Linked DNA regions of Homo sapiens: region 2 is linked to region 1. Evidence: promoter capture Hi-C in human tissues and cell types (Jung and others, 2019). All regions are on one chromosome and are shown on one strand. The core of a region is centred on a gene start or on the middle of the fragment in contact, and the rest is flanking DNA. Distances in the headings are between cores, read along the strand shown. Region 1 holds the start of COX4I2 (cytochrome c oxidase subunit 4I2). Region 2 overlaps HM13 (histocompatibility minor 13).

Region 1 (5,692 bases), core at 1,656-4,155:
GACTGAATGAATGAATGTGAGAAGCATGAACCTTTCCCCACTAGGAATCCCTTGAAATCTTGGAGGTCAGGCTGAGTGTTCCCATTCATGGAATGAAAATAAGGTGCTCCAAATTTCAAAGGGTCAGCTCAGGGATGCTCTGGTGGACATGACAAGGGACCACACATCCCTCCAGCCTCCCAGGGTCAGAGGGCTCCTCCCCAACCGCCTCACCTGCCTCTCTCTGTCCCATCTCCCCCACATCACTCAATTCCAGGGCCCTCCACAGTCTCCTGCTCTGACACCCTTCCCCATGCAGTTCCCACTCCCTGGCAGTGCCCTCCTCTTCACCCTTAAAGGCCAGCTGGAATGTGCCCTCCTCTGGGAGGTCCACCAAGATTTCATCTCACAGTCCTTGAACACACCTCACCCTAGCCACATGTTCTGTATTACAATTATTGGAGTCTGTATTGGTTTTCCCCACGGGACCGGGGGCACCATGGGGGCAGGAACTATCCAGGTGATTCACCTCATGTCCCCAGCATTGCCTAGCATCAGGCTATGCACAAACAGGTGAGTGAATAAAGAAACGAACAAAGGCATGAACTTCACCCCTCAGGTGTTTGGAGGTTTCTGGCTGTCTTGGGGGCCTCTCTCTGCCCTCTGATCCCTGACAGGCCATTCTTTCCAAAGTCAGCCCCCAACCCACTCTCTCCAGCCAGCCCCACCCTGACACTTACAGGCCACCTTTTCGGCGTGGGTCAGCTGGGTCCAGCTTCCCTTCTCCTTCTCCTTCAGGGCCTGCTCCTCAGCGTTGAGTTCTGTGCAGAAGGGCTCTTCTGGCATGGGGTAGTAGCGCTGGGCATAGCAGTTGGTGTAGGGGGACATCTTCCCCCCACCACGGGCTGCAGACACAATGGAGGGAGCTGAGTCCAGGCTGCCCTTGGGACACCCTATCTCTAACTATATTAATAAAGAAGGTGGCCGGGCTTGGTGGCTCATGCCTGTAATCCTAGCATTTTGGGAGGCTGAGGCGGGTGGATCACGAGGTCAGGAGTTCGAGACCAGCCTGGCCAAGACAGTAAAACCTCTCCTCTACTAAAAATACAAAAATTAGCCGGGCGCAGTGGTGGGCACCTATAATCCCAGCTACTCGGGAGGCTGAGTCAGGAGAATTGTTTGAACCCAGGAGGCGGAGGTTGCAGTGAGCCGACATTGCGCCACTGAACACTCTAGCCTGAGCGACAGAGCAAGACTCTATCTCAAAAAAAAAAAAAAAGGAGGTTTATAATAGCTTGGGGTACTAGTAAGGGCTCAATAAATGTTATCTTTGTTATTCTCCATGGGTCAGCAAGGCCCTTCTGCTATCTGGCTGAAGTCTCTCCTACTTTAGGTCTCTTTCTTCTTACTAGCATTGAAACTAGGGTCTGGAAAGGAGGAATCAGGGTCCAAGGTTCTGTCAGCATCCTCCACCTCAGAACAAAAGGTCTAGGGGCCTGAGGCTTGGGGGCTGGCTCCTAAGGAAGCTTGGAATGGAGATGACCACTGTCTGCTCACCCCGCGCACTCCATTTCCTGGAGAAACTTGACCTTGGACCAAGGAGTGGGATCATGGGAACATGGGAAGTGTGGTAGGAACAGGCCCAGGGTGGCATGGAAGGGCAAAGGGGGCAGCCTGCAGAGGGGACCCCTGCCCCTATCTCTGGAGTTAGGCAGGGAGGAAGGAGTCCAGGTCTCACTGGTGCCTTCTGAGCTGTGCATCCCTCGTCTTCCACCTCCACCTTTCCTCAGCACCAAGCTCCAGGCAGCTCTGGGGAGCATCTGGGGGCGTGAAGGTATAGATGAGTTCTGCCCCCACATCACCCTCTGCCCCCAAACCGCAGGGCCAGATGGAAAAATCCTTTTCCACTGGTATGGTAGTGGTAGGGGTGTCCCAGTGTTTCAAGGTCACCCTCATGCCCTTGACCCTTCTAATTTTGTCTGATATCCCCAGCGGGGGGCCAATGGGGGTCCTAGACCTTTGAAGCCCCTTTTTGGGACCTCAATTCACCATCTGAGAAGTGGGAGGAGGCCTAAGTCTTGGGCCAGGGTCTGAAGAGTTTGAGGCTGAGGGCTTGGGTTCTGGTGCCAGCCCCAGCTCAGTCTGGCCAGATTGGAGAACCCCGCTCACTTGTTTGCTCCCCAGAGGAAGCTGGGTGGGGTCCAGGTGGAGAGGGAGCAGTTCTTGAGTCTCTCTTCCCTGCAGGGGCCAGAGGCCCCTGCACCGGCAGAACAGACAGACGGTCTGGCCCCCACCCCTTCCCCCCTAATTGGCTGCCTACGTGCACACAGGCCTGCTCTGCTGGATCTGGTTGGGGTGGGGACTGGGCTTAGCCAGTCTGGCTGAGCCCAGTCTCCCACCCCCAGGGAAGACTCAGGGTTTGGCATCCATGGTGGTGGGGAGGGGCTTTAGAGGATGGGGACTTAACTGGGTCAGAGGGAGGGAGACACACATCTGGGGAAAAGAAGGGGAGTCCCACATCTAGGGAGAGAGAGGGGCACCCAACAAATAGAGTGAGGGAGGGGGCACACTACAGGTGATAAGTGGGAGGGGGCGGCCCACACTTCTGGAAAAGAGGGGCTCCGGCCAGTGATTATGATTAGTGGGTGGGAGAGCTCCACATATCAAGAGAGGGAGGATGTAATCTATATTTGGGGAAAGAGATGGCACACATATGCAGACTCCCCAGGAGTCTTCAACTCTAACCTACAAGAAGCCCCCCAACCCTCTAAGACAGGGACCACTGGGGCGTGACCCAGCGGCGAAGGCAGGAGACCGAGCCGCGCCCCTGACCCGCGCGGGCTTGGGTGGCGGGGTCCTCCCCCAACTCACTCACCTCGCGGGCTCGGCAGTGGGAGCGCGACCTGGGTCTGCCCAGCGAGCAACTGAGAACCCGCTGCGGAGGGACCTGAGTGCGGGCGCCCGCCCCCGGCCCGCCCCACAGCCTTTCTCGGGGCCGCCCCAGCGTGGGAACGTCCTGCTTCGGCAGGGCGTGGGAGCGCACAGCCTGCGTCCCTGGGGGCACCCCGGCCCACAGATTGGGGGGAGGCACTGCAGAGCGCCTCCTGCATCAGTGTCCCTACCGGGGTCCTGCCTCTGGAGACCCTCTGCAGACAGTAGTCCCAAGAACAGGGTCTCCCTGCCTCCTCCACACCTCCCCTCCTTGCTGTTTCTCCCACCTGGGATGTTCTCTTCAGGCCTTTGCAGACGCAAACCTTCCAGCCAGGCCCAATGCCTCCTACTCCAGAAGCATCTTTTAGGCCAGCAGTGGCTCACGCCTGTAATCCTAGCACTTTGGGAGGCCGAGGCGGGAGGATCACCTGAGGTCAGGAGTTTGAGACCAGCCTGCCCAGCATGGCGAAACACCTTCTCTATTAAAAATAGAAAAATTGGGCGGGCGCGGTGGCTCATGCCTGTAATCTCAGCGCTTTGGGAGGCCAAGGCAGGCAAATCACGAGGTCAGGAGTTTGAGACAGCTTAGCCAACATGGTGAAACCCCATCTTTACTAAGAATACAAAAATTAGCTGGGCGTGGTGGCACGCACCTGTAATCCCAGCTACTCAGGAGGCTGAGGCAGGAGAATCGCTTGAACCCGGGAGGCGGAGGTTGCGGTGAGTCGAGATCCGGCTACTGCACTCTAGCCTGGGCAGCAGAGCTAGACTCCATCTCAAAAAAAAAAAAAAAAAAAAAAAAAGTTAGCAGGGCGTGGTGGCGCGCACCTATAGTCCCAGCTTCACAGAGGGCTGAGGCAGGAGAATCACTTGAACCTGGGAAGCGGCTGTTGCAGTGAGCCGAGATCGGGCCACTGCACTCCAGCCTGGGCAACAGAACAAGACTCTGTCTCAGAAAAAAAGAAAAAGAAAAAGAAAAAAAAAATTCCCAGCACTTTGGGAGGCCAAGGGGGGCAGATCATGAGGTCAGGAGATGGAGACCATCCTGGCTAACACAGCGAAACCCCGTCTCTACTAAAAATGCAAACAAAATTAGCCAGGCATGGTGGCAGGCGCCTGTGGTCCCAGCTACTCAGGAGGCTGAGGCAGGAGAATGGCTTGAACCCGCAAGGCAGAGGTTGCGGTGAGCCAAGATCATGCCACTGCACTCGAGCCTAGTGACAGAGCGAGACTCCATCTCAAAAAAAAAAAAAAAAAAAATAGACAAGGCTCAGGCACATTTATTCAAGAATTACTTATAAAACTGGGCGTGGTGGCTCATGCCTGCAATCCCAGCACTCTGGGAGGCGGAGGCGAGCAGATCACCTAACGTCAAGAGTTTGAGACCACCCTGGCCAACGTGGTGAAATCCCGTCTCTACTAAAAATACAAAAATTAGCCGAGTGTGGCAGGGGACACCTATAATTCCAGCTACTCGGGAGGCTGAGGCTAGATAATCGCTTGAACCTGGGAGGCAGACGTTGCAGTGAGCCAAGATCGCACCACTGCACTCCAGCCTGGGTGGTAGAGTGAGACTCCTCAAAAAAAAAAAAAAAAAAAAAAAAACTTAAAAAAAACTTATAAAGACCTGTTTCAGCTGGCATTTATTGCATACTTGTTTACCAGGATAAATGTTGGGGGCTATAGAGCCAAAAAAAACCAGACATAGTTCCTGCCCCCACAGGGCTTACAATTCTGTTCTAGGCAGAGGAAAAGGCCTGTGCAAAGACCCAGAGGCAGGAAAACACAGCATGTTCAAAAAACAGAAGAGACAGGCCAGGTGCAGTGGCTCACGCTGTAATCCCAGCACTTTGGGAGGTCAAGGCAGGTGGATCACAAGATCAGGAGATCGAGACCAGCCTGGCTAACACGGTGAAACCCCATCTCTACCAAAAATACAAAAAATTAGCCAGGCGTGGTGGCATGCACCTGTAGTCCCAGCTACTTGGGAGGCTGAGGCAGGAGAATCGCTTGAACCCGGGAGGTGGAGGTTGCAGTGAGCCAAGATTGCACCATTGCACTCCAGCCTGGGCGACAGAACGAGACTCCGTCTCAAAAAAAAAAAAAAAAACAACTGAACAGAAGAGACAGCCAGGTGCGGTGGCTCATGCCTATAATCCCAGCACTTTGGGAGGCCGAGGCGAATGGATCACCTGAGGTCGGGAGTTTGAGACCAGCCTGGCCAACATGGTGAAACCCCGTCTCTACTAAAAATAAAAAAATTGGCCAGGTGTGGTGGTGCACATCTGTAATCCCAGCTACTCGGGAGGCTGAGGCAGGAGAATCGCTTGAATCTGGGAGGCGGAGGTTGCAGTGAGCCAAGATCCCACCGTTGCACTCCAGCCTGGGCAACAAGAGCGAAACTCCATCTCAAAGCAACAACAAAAACAATAACAAAAGAAGAGAGGTCATCTTGGCCAGAGTGTCATGGTTAAAGGGGAGGCTGGATGGAGGGAGAGGTGGGCTGGACCACCGAGAAGGACCTGTAGGCGGTAGTGAGGAGCTTGGATTTTATTTAAAGAAGGTGATTAAGCTGGCATGGTGGCACACCCCTGTAGTCCCAGGTGCTCAGGAGGCTGAGGCAGGAGGTGGAGGTTGCAGTAAACTGAGATTGCACCACTGCACTCCAACCTGGGCAACAGAATGAGACCCTGTCTCAATAAATAAATAAATAAATAAAATAAAATGAAGGTGGGAGGCAACCAAAGTTAAGAAGAGGAGTGATGTGTTCAAATGAAGCAGA
Region 2 (5,692 bases), core at 1,161-3,660, 83 kb after region 1:
CTGCCTGGGCAACAAGAGCAAAACTCCATCTCAAAAAAAAAAAAAAAAAAAAAAAAGAAGCACTGCCTGTCAACTGTCAACATATGATTAATTTTAAAGAGGGAAATGAATTAGTTCTCAATGAATACTCTGTAGGAGTAGGGAGTTGGTTGGGGATAGAGCAGACAACTGCAGTTATTCTGGAATCAAGCTGGGAACTCAGTGCCCCCTGGCGGCTGATTTCTACGAGTGTTCTCCAACTAATCCAGGGGTCAGAGCTCTGCCAGGGATTTTCACTCCTAAAGTGCATCTGGCCTTCCAAACAACGCTCCACTGTGATCAACTTACATTTATTGTGATTGCGGGACTACTGGGGATATATATAGAGGGTGGGGAAAGGACAGATATGCCGAGATGTCCTGTGCCTGTCTCAAGCCTGGAACTTATGACAAGGACACAGGGGAAGTTTGTGTGGGTGAATGACAGACCGTGCCCTTAAGAGTGAGCCAGATGCTTTACAGGACTCCATTTCTTTTGTCTGACAGAGATGCCTTCTACTGGGGAAGCAAGTCTCCCTGCCTCACAGCACTGCAAATTATGAAGACACATGGGTGCAAGCCCATACCCTCGTGGCCTCAGGCAAGTCAAACCTCAGTTTCCTTATCTGTAAAATGGAAATGCCCTCTATCTCACTGGACTGCTGGGAGAAGTAAAGATGACATATAAAAAGTACCTAGCACCATTCTTTTTTTTTTTTTTTTTGAGATGGAGTCTGGCTGTGTGGCCCAGGCTGGAGTGCAGTGGTGCAATCTTGGCTCACTGCAAGCTCCACCTCCCGGGTTCATGCCATTCTCCTGCCTCAGCCTCCCGAGTAGCTGGGACTACACGCGCCCGCCACTACGCCTGGCTAATTTTTGTATTTTTAGTAGAGACGGGGTTTCACCATGTTAGCCAGGATGGTCTCGATCTCCTGACCTCATGATCCACCCGCCTCAGCCTCCCAAAGTGCTGGGATTACAGGCTTAAGCCACCGTGCCCGGCCGGCCACCTAGCACCATTCTTGGTACACGACAGGTGCTTGATAAATGGTAGCTGTTGTGATTACCGTCTTATTACTGCTAGTGCTGCTGTAAGGAGCAGTTCTGACAGCGTAGCCTTTTTTGCAGTTGGACAGTGCTGGTCTGAGTCCTGGCCCTGTTGCTTACTAGTGTGTGAATTTGTATCATTCCCTTTACTTCTGAGCTTCAGTTTCCTCACTGGTAAAACAGGGAAAGCCTCTGTGTCACCTCCATGTGTCACAAAATGCAACTGTCACAAATAGAAGTGCCTGTATCACCCTAGGTGATCAGAATTGCTATAATATCCTACCCTGGAAAGTAAGTCAGCCTTTAATCTGCTGCTTTAAAATAATTCCTCTTCTTTTAAAAAATATAGACGGGGTCGGCCAGGCGTGGTGGCTCATGCCTGTAATCTCAGCACTTTGTGGGGGCCGAGGTAGGTGGATCACCTGAGGTCGGGAGTTTGAGACCAGCCTGACCAACATGAAGAAACTCCATCTCTACTAAATATACAAAATCAGCCGGGCGTGGTGGTGCATGCCTATAATCCCAGCTACTTGGGAGGCTGAGGCAGGAGAATCGAGAATCGCTTGAACCAGGGAGGCAGAGGTTGCAGTGAGCCGAGATCGCGTTATTGCACTCCAGCCTGGGCAAGAGCAAAACTCCGTCTCAAAAAAAAAAAAAAAGGAGAAATAATAATTTTATATATATATATGGTCTCACAATTTGCCCAGGCCAGACCTCCTTCTTTAAGAGACAGGGTCTCACTCTGTCACCCAAGCTGAAGTGCAGTGGCACAATCATAGCTCACTGCAGCCTTGAACTCCTGGGCTCAAACGATCCTCCTACCTCAGCCTCCAGAGTAGCTGGGACTACAGGCATGAGCCACCACGACTGGCTAATTTTTTTTTTTTTTTGTAGAGATGAGGTCTTGCTATGTTGTCCAGACTGGTCTTGAACTCCTGGCATCAAGTGATCTTCCCCACGCAGCTTCCCAAAGTGTTGGAATTACAGGTGTGAGCCACTGTGCCCAGCTAAAACCTTCTTTTAAGCAAGCTTCTAACCCTCTCACTCTGAGGCTAGGAAGACAAGTATGTCCCTTGGGTTCACTGCCCCCACAACTGGGCCCAGATAAGCAGACACACCCGAGCCTCAGCCACTTCAGCAGCTCAGCTTTGCCCTTAGTCTCTTTCCTGACTGGTAGTTTGAGCTGCTCCTGCCCCAAAGTGAGGCCAGGCTGTGGTTGCGCAGGATGTGCTATCCTGCTTGGATTGTGGACAGGGCCCGTGTCCATACCCACAGACACACTGACTAGAACCCACACGCAGATCCAGGGGCTCAAAGGCCAGCCTCTGCAGATAAGCAGGTGTGCACGCACATGCTCCTCTGCTGAGAGTGCAGACAGGAGCCCATGTGTGTGTTCTCCCTGGAGATGTCTTGGCACAGGGAGGAGGAGCAAGGGGGCTAGGGCAATTCTGGTACATCTGTGATGCTTGCAGATGCTGGGAAGGGGTATGTGTATGTGTGGGTGTGTGTGACAGGGGTCCAGTCTGTTAAGATTGTCATGAAACGTGCTTTTTCAGAGTGTACCTCAATCTGTCATTAGACTTTTACTTTTGTAGTTCTTGAGCAACATCTGCTCACCTAGACCAGAGGCTCTGTGAAGACAGTCTTGTTCACTGACACCTGACCAGGACCCAGCTTGGGGCATGGCACCTGACTGGCCCTCCGTAAACGGATGTTAAGGGGGAACCCTTCACCAATCCCTGGCCTGATCCAGCCTTACCTTTTCTCTTTCTCAGCTGGTAAGCCTGTCTGTTTAGCAGTAATCCCCTTGCTCCGGGGAATACCCTCTCCACCCCTTTCACATAGCCCCCACACCAGCAGGCTCACCTGGAATGACGACATCTCCAAGTCCCAGCATGGCAAAGTTGTTTGCTTCGAGGCCTTTCTCCAGCAGATCCTGGGGAAACACCACTGAAGCGGGAGGCGGGAATGTGAGGAGTCAGCTGGAGCCCAGTTTACATTTTTTTTTTTTTTTGAGACGGAGTCTCGCACTGTCACCCAGGCTGGAGTGCAGTGGCGCAATCTCGGCTCACTGCAAGCTCCATCTCCTGGGTTCATGCCATTCTCCCGCCTCAGCCTCCCAAGTAGCTGGAACTACAGGCGCCCACCACCGCACCCAGCTAATTTTTTGTATTTTTAGTAGAGACGGGGTTTCACCGTGTTAGCCAGGATGGTCTTGATCTCCTGACCTCGTGATCCTCCCGCCTCGACCTCCCAAAGTGCTGGAGTTACAGGCGTGAGCCACCGCTCCCGGCCTACTTTGTATTTTTTTTTTTTTTGAGACGGGGCTTGCTCTATTGCCCAGGGCAATGAGGACTGTAATCGGGAGTGCAGTGGCACGATCTTGGCTCACTGCAACCTCTGTCTCCTAGGCTCAAGTGATTCTCCTGCCTCCTGAGTAGCTGGGATTTTAGACGCCCGCCCCATTTTTGTATTCCCAGCTTACTTTGACTCCTAACCCCCCATTCTTGTTGTATGAAACTCACACATTTGTTTCTGGGTGGGATGTGGGGGATGGGGACGTGAGAGGATGCAGGGCAATGTCTCCATCTGGAGTCACAGCTGGTTAGAGTGGGGAGGAATAGGGTCATCTAGGCTGAAGATTTAATGCCTTTACTGAGCTATAACTCAAATAACCATACAATTTCAACGCCTTTTTATAGCTATTGAACCCTTTGGTTAAATGGGATTGACCCTAAAGCCCAGTATATAAAAGAAAAGAGCCACACAGTGCCAACATCTACAAGGTTTCCCATCTCACTATAACAGGGGTATGGACAGATGTTGGCCCTTGTTCTGAAGCAGGGTGAGCCCGGGCTATAAGCTCCTTCTGTATTTGCTGAGGGAGAAAAGGCTACACACCCGCAGATTGCTTCCTTAAAGCCCCTCACTCAGAAATCTTGCTGGACAGCTTGTCTGGATAAATACAGATTAGGGAGAAACGCCTCCCTCTGTGTCTAGTTATAGCAAAAGGAGGTTATAACTGGATTTCATCCATAGGGCCTTGCAAGCAGAAGAGCAGTTATAAGTGGGCCTTAGAGGCTGACTTGTGGGTCTGTAGGTCTGAATCCTAGTTCTGTGCTCTGCACAGGTTACTTACCTGCCTTAGTTTTGTCACCTGTGAAACGGGTAGACAACAGAACTGACCCCTCAGGGTGATAGTGAAGATTAGATGATTTGTACACAGTTAACTGCTACCTCATGCCTTCTTTACTAATCCAGTCCTGGTTTTGTGTTAGGCAGCCTTCCCAGGTGATAAGTGTGGTGCAAGACTAAGCCAATCAGGAAAATCCTGTTCCTTGAATTCCTTACTTGCAGGTAGGGGGTCAGCTCTGGCCAACATTTTTTTTTTTTTTTTTTTGAGATGGAGTCTCGCTCTGTTGCCCAGGCTGGAGTCCAGTGGCGCAATATCGGCTCACTGCAACCTCTGCCTCCCGGGTTCAAGTGATTCTCCTGCCTCAGCCCCCTGAGTAGCTGAAATTACAGGCATGCGCCACCATGCCTGGCTAATTTTTGTATTTTTAGTAGAGACAGGGTTTCACCATGTTGGTCAGGCTGGTCTCGAATTCCTGACCTTGTGATCTGCCCACCTCAGCTTCCCAAAGTGCTGGGATTACAGGCGTAAGCCACCACGCCTGGCCATTTAATTTTTATTTCTTTATACATATATACATATATATTTGAGACGGAGTCTTACTCTGTCACCCAGGCTGGAGTGCAGTGGTGTGATCTTGGCTCACTGCAACCTTCATCTGGCCAACAACAGGTACACAGAGGTGCGTGCACAGGGATTCTGAATAAGCTTGTGCTTCCCTAATACATGGATAGGTACCCTTGCCCTGCCTGCCTCTTCCTGCCTTGAATGTACAACGCAGTGATTTACAGATTTTCTCTCTCAATCCTGGTACCATTCAATTTTGAGTGGCAGAGACTATTGTCACCATTTTACAGTTCTAGAAACCAGGGCTCAGAGAGGACAAGTCTTCTCCCCAAGGCCACACGGTCAGCAAGTGGCAGAGCTGAGATTCAAGTCCAGGCAGCCTGATGTCAGCATATGAGCACTTCACTGTTCTGCCTTTCTGCCACTGAGCACTAGTCCTAGCAGTAGAAGGCAGTGGGTCTTCTCCCTAGCCCAGAAAACCAGACCCTAAGTATCAGAAACCAAATATGACAGCACCACTTCCCTGCTCGGAGTCTTCCAGTGGCCTACGGGGCAGTGTCCAAGCTCCTTAGAGTGGCATCCTTGGCTTCCCAAATCTGGCCTCTGCCCACCTCTTTCCAGCCTCTTTTCCCTGAACTCAGCTATGCCCACTCCCTGATTCTCTGCTCCCAGGCCCCTCCATGCACCTTCCTGCCTCCAGCCCTTTGCTGAAGCTGTACATTATCTTTCAAATGCCCATATTGCCCCTGTATGCTTGGGAAATGTGTATTCATCCTTCATGACCCAGAAAAGATTTTCCTGACACCCTGGCTGGGTTCTCTGGGCTTACACACCCCCAGGCTCAACCATCAAGGCACTGGGGAATAGCTGTTGCTCTGGCTGGCCCAGCATCTGTTCCCTTGCTCTGGAGAAATGCCCTCCCCGTGTA

What was found. The method cuts DNA at HindIII sites, captures the fragments that hold promoters and counts their contacts. A contact is called where the count stands out against the background at its distance.
Region 2: a fragment that was not itself captured here is called in contact with the fragment with the promoter of COX4I2 in region 1 in 5 of the 25 tissues and cell types used here (H1 embryonic stem cells, IMR-90 fibroblasts, aorta and 2 more).

What each region holds. Positions count from the first base shown.
Region 1 is chr20:31,635,125-31,640,816 of GRCh38, reverse strand. It overlaps COX4I2 (cytochrome c oxidase subunit 4I2), which reads right to left and starts at 2,905. Exons shown (of 5, transcript NM_032609.3): 1 at 2,855-2,905; 2 at 1,718-1,799; 3 at 720-884. The coding sequence starts at 1,799. RefSeq lists a silencer at 2,845-2,984. The HindIII fragment of the contact is 12,374 bases long and covers 1-5,692 here.
Region 2 is chr20:31,552,068-31,557,759 of GRCh38, reverse strand. HM13 (histocompatibility minor 13) reads right to left here. Exons shown (of 13, transcript NM_178581.3): 8 at 2,931-3,014. Among named protein-coding and RNA genes, the nearest start is that of MCTS2, 7.5 kb to the right of the region's middle. RefSeq lists an enhancer at 2,511-3,010. The HindIII fragment of the contact is 6,275 bases long and covers 1-5,547 here.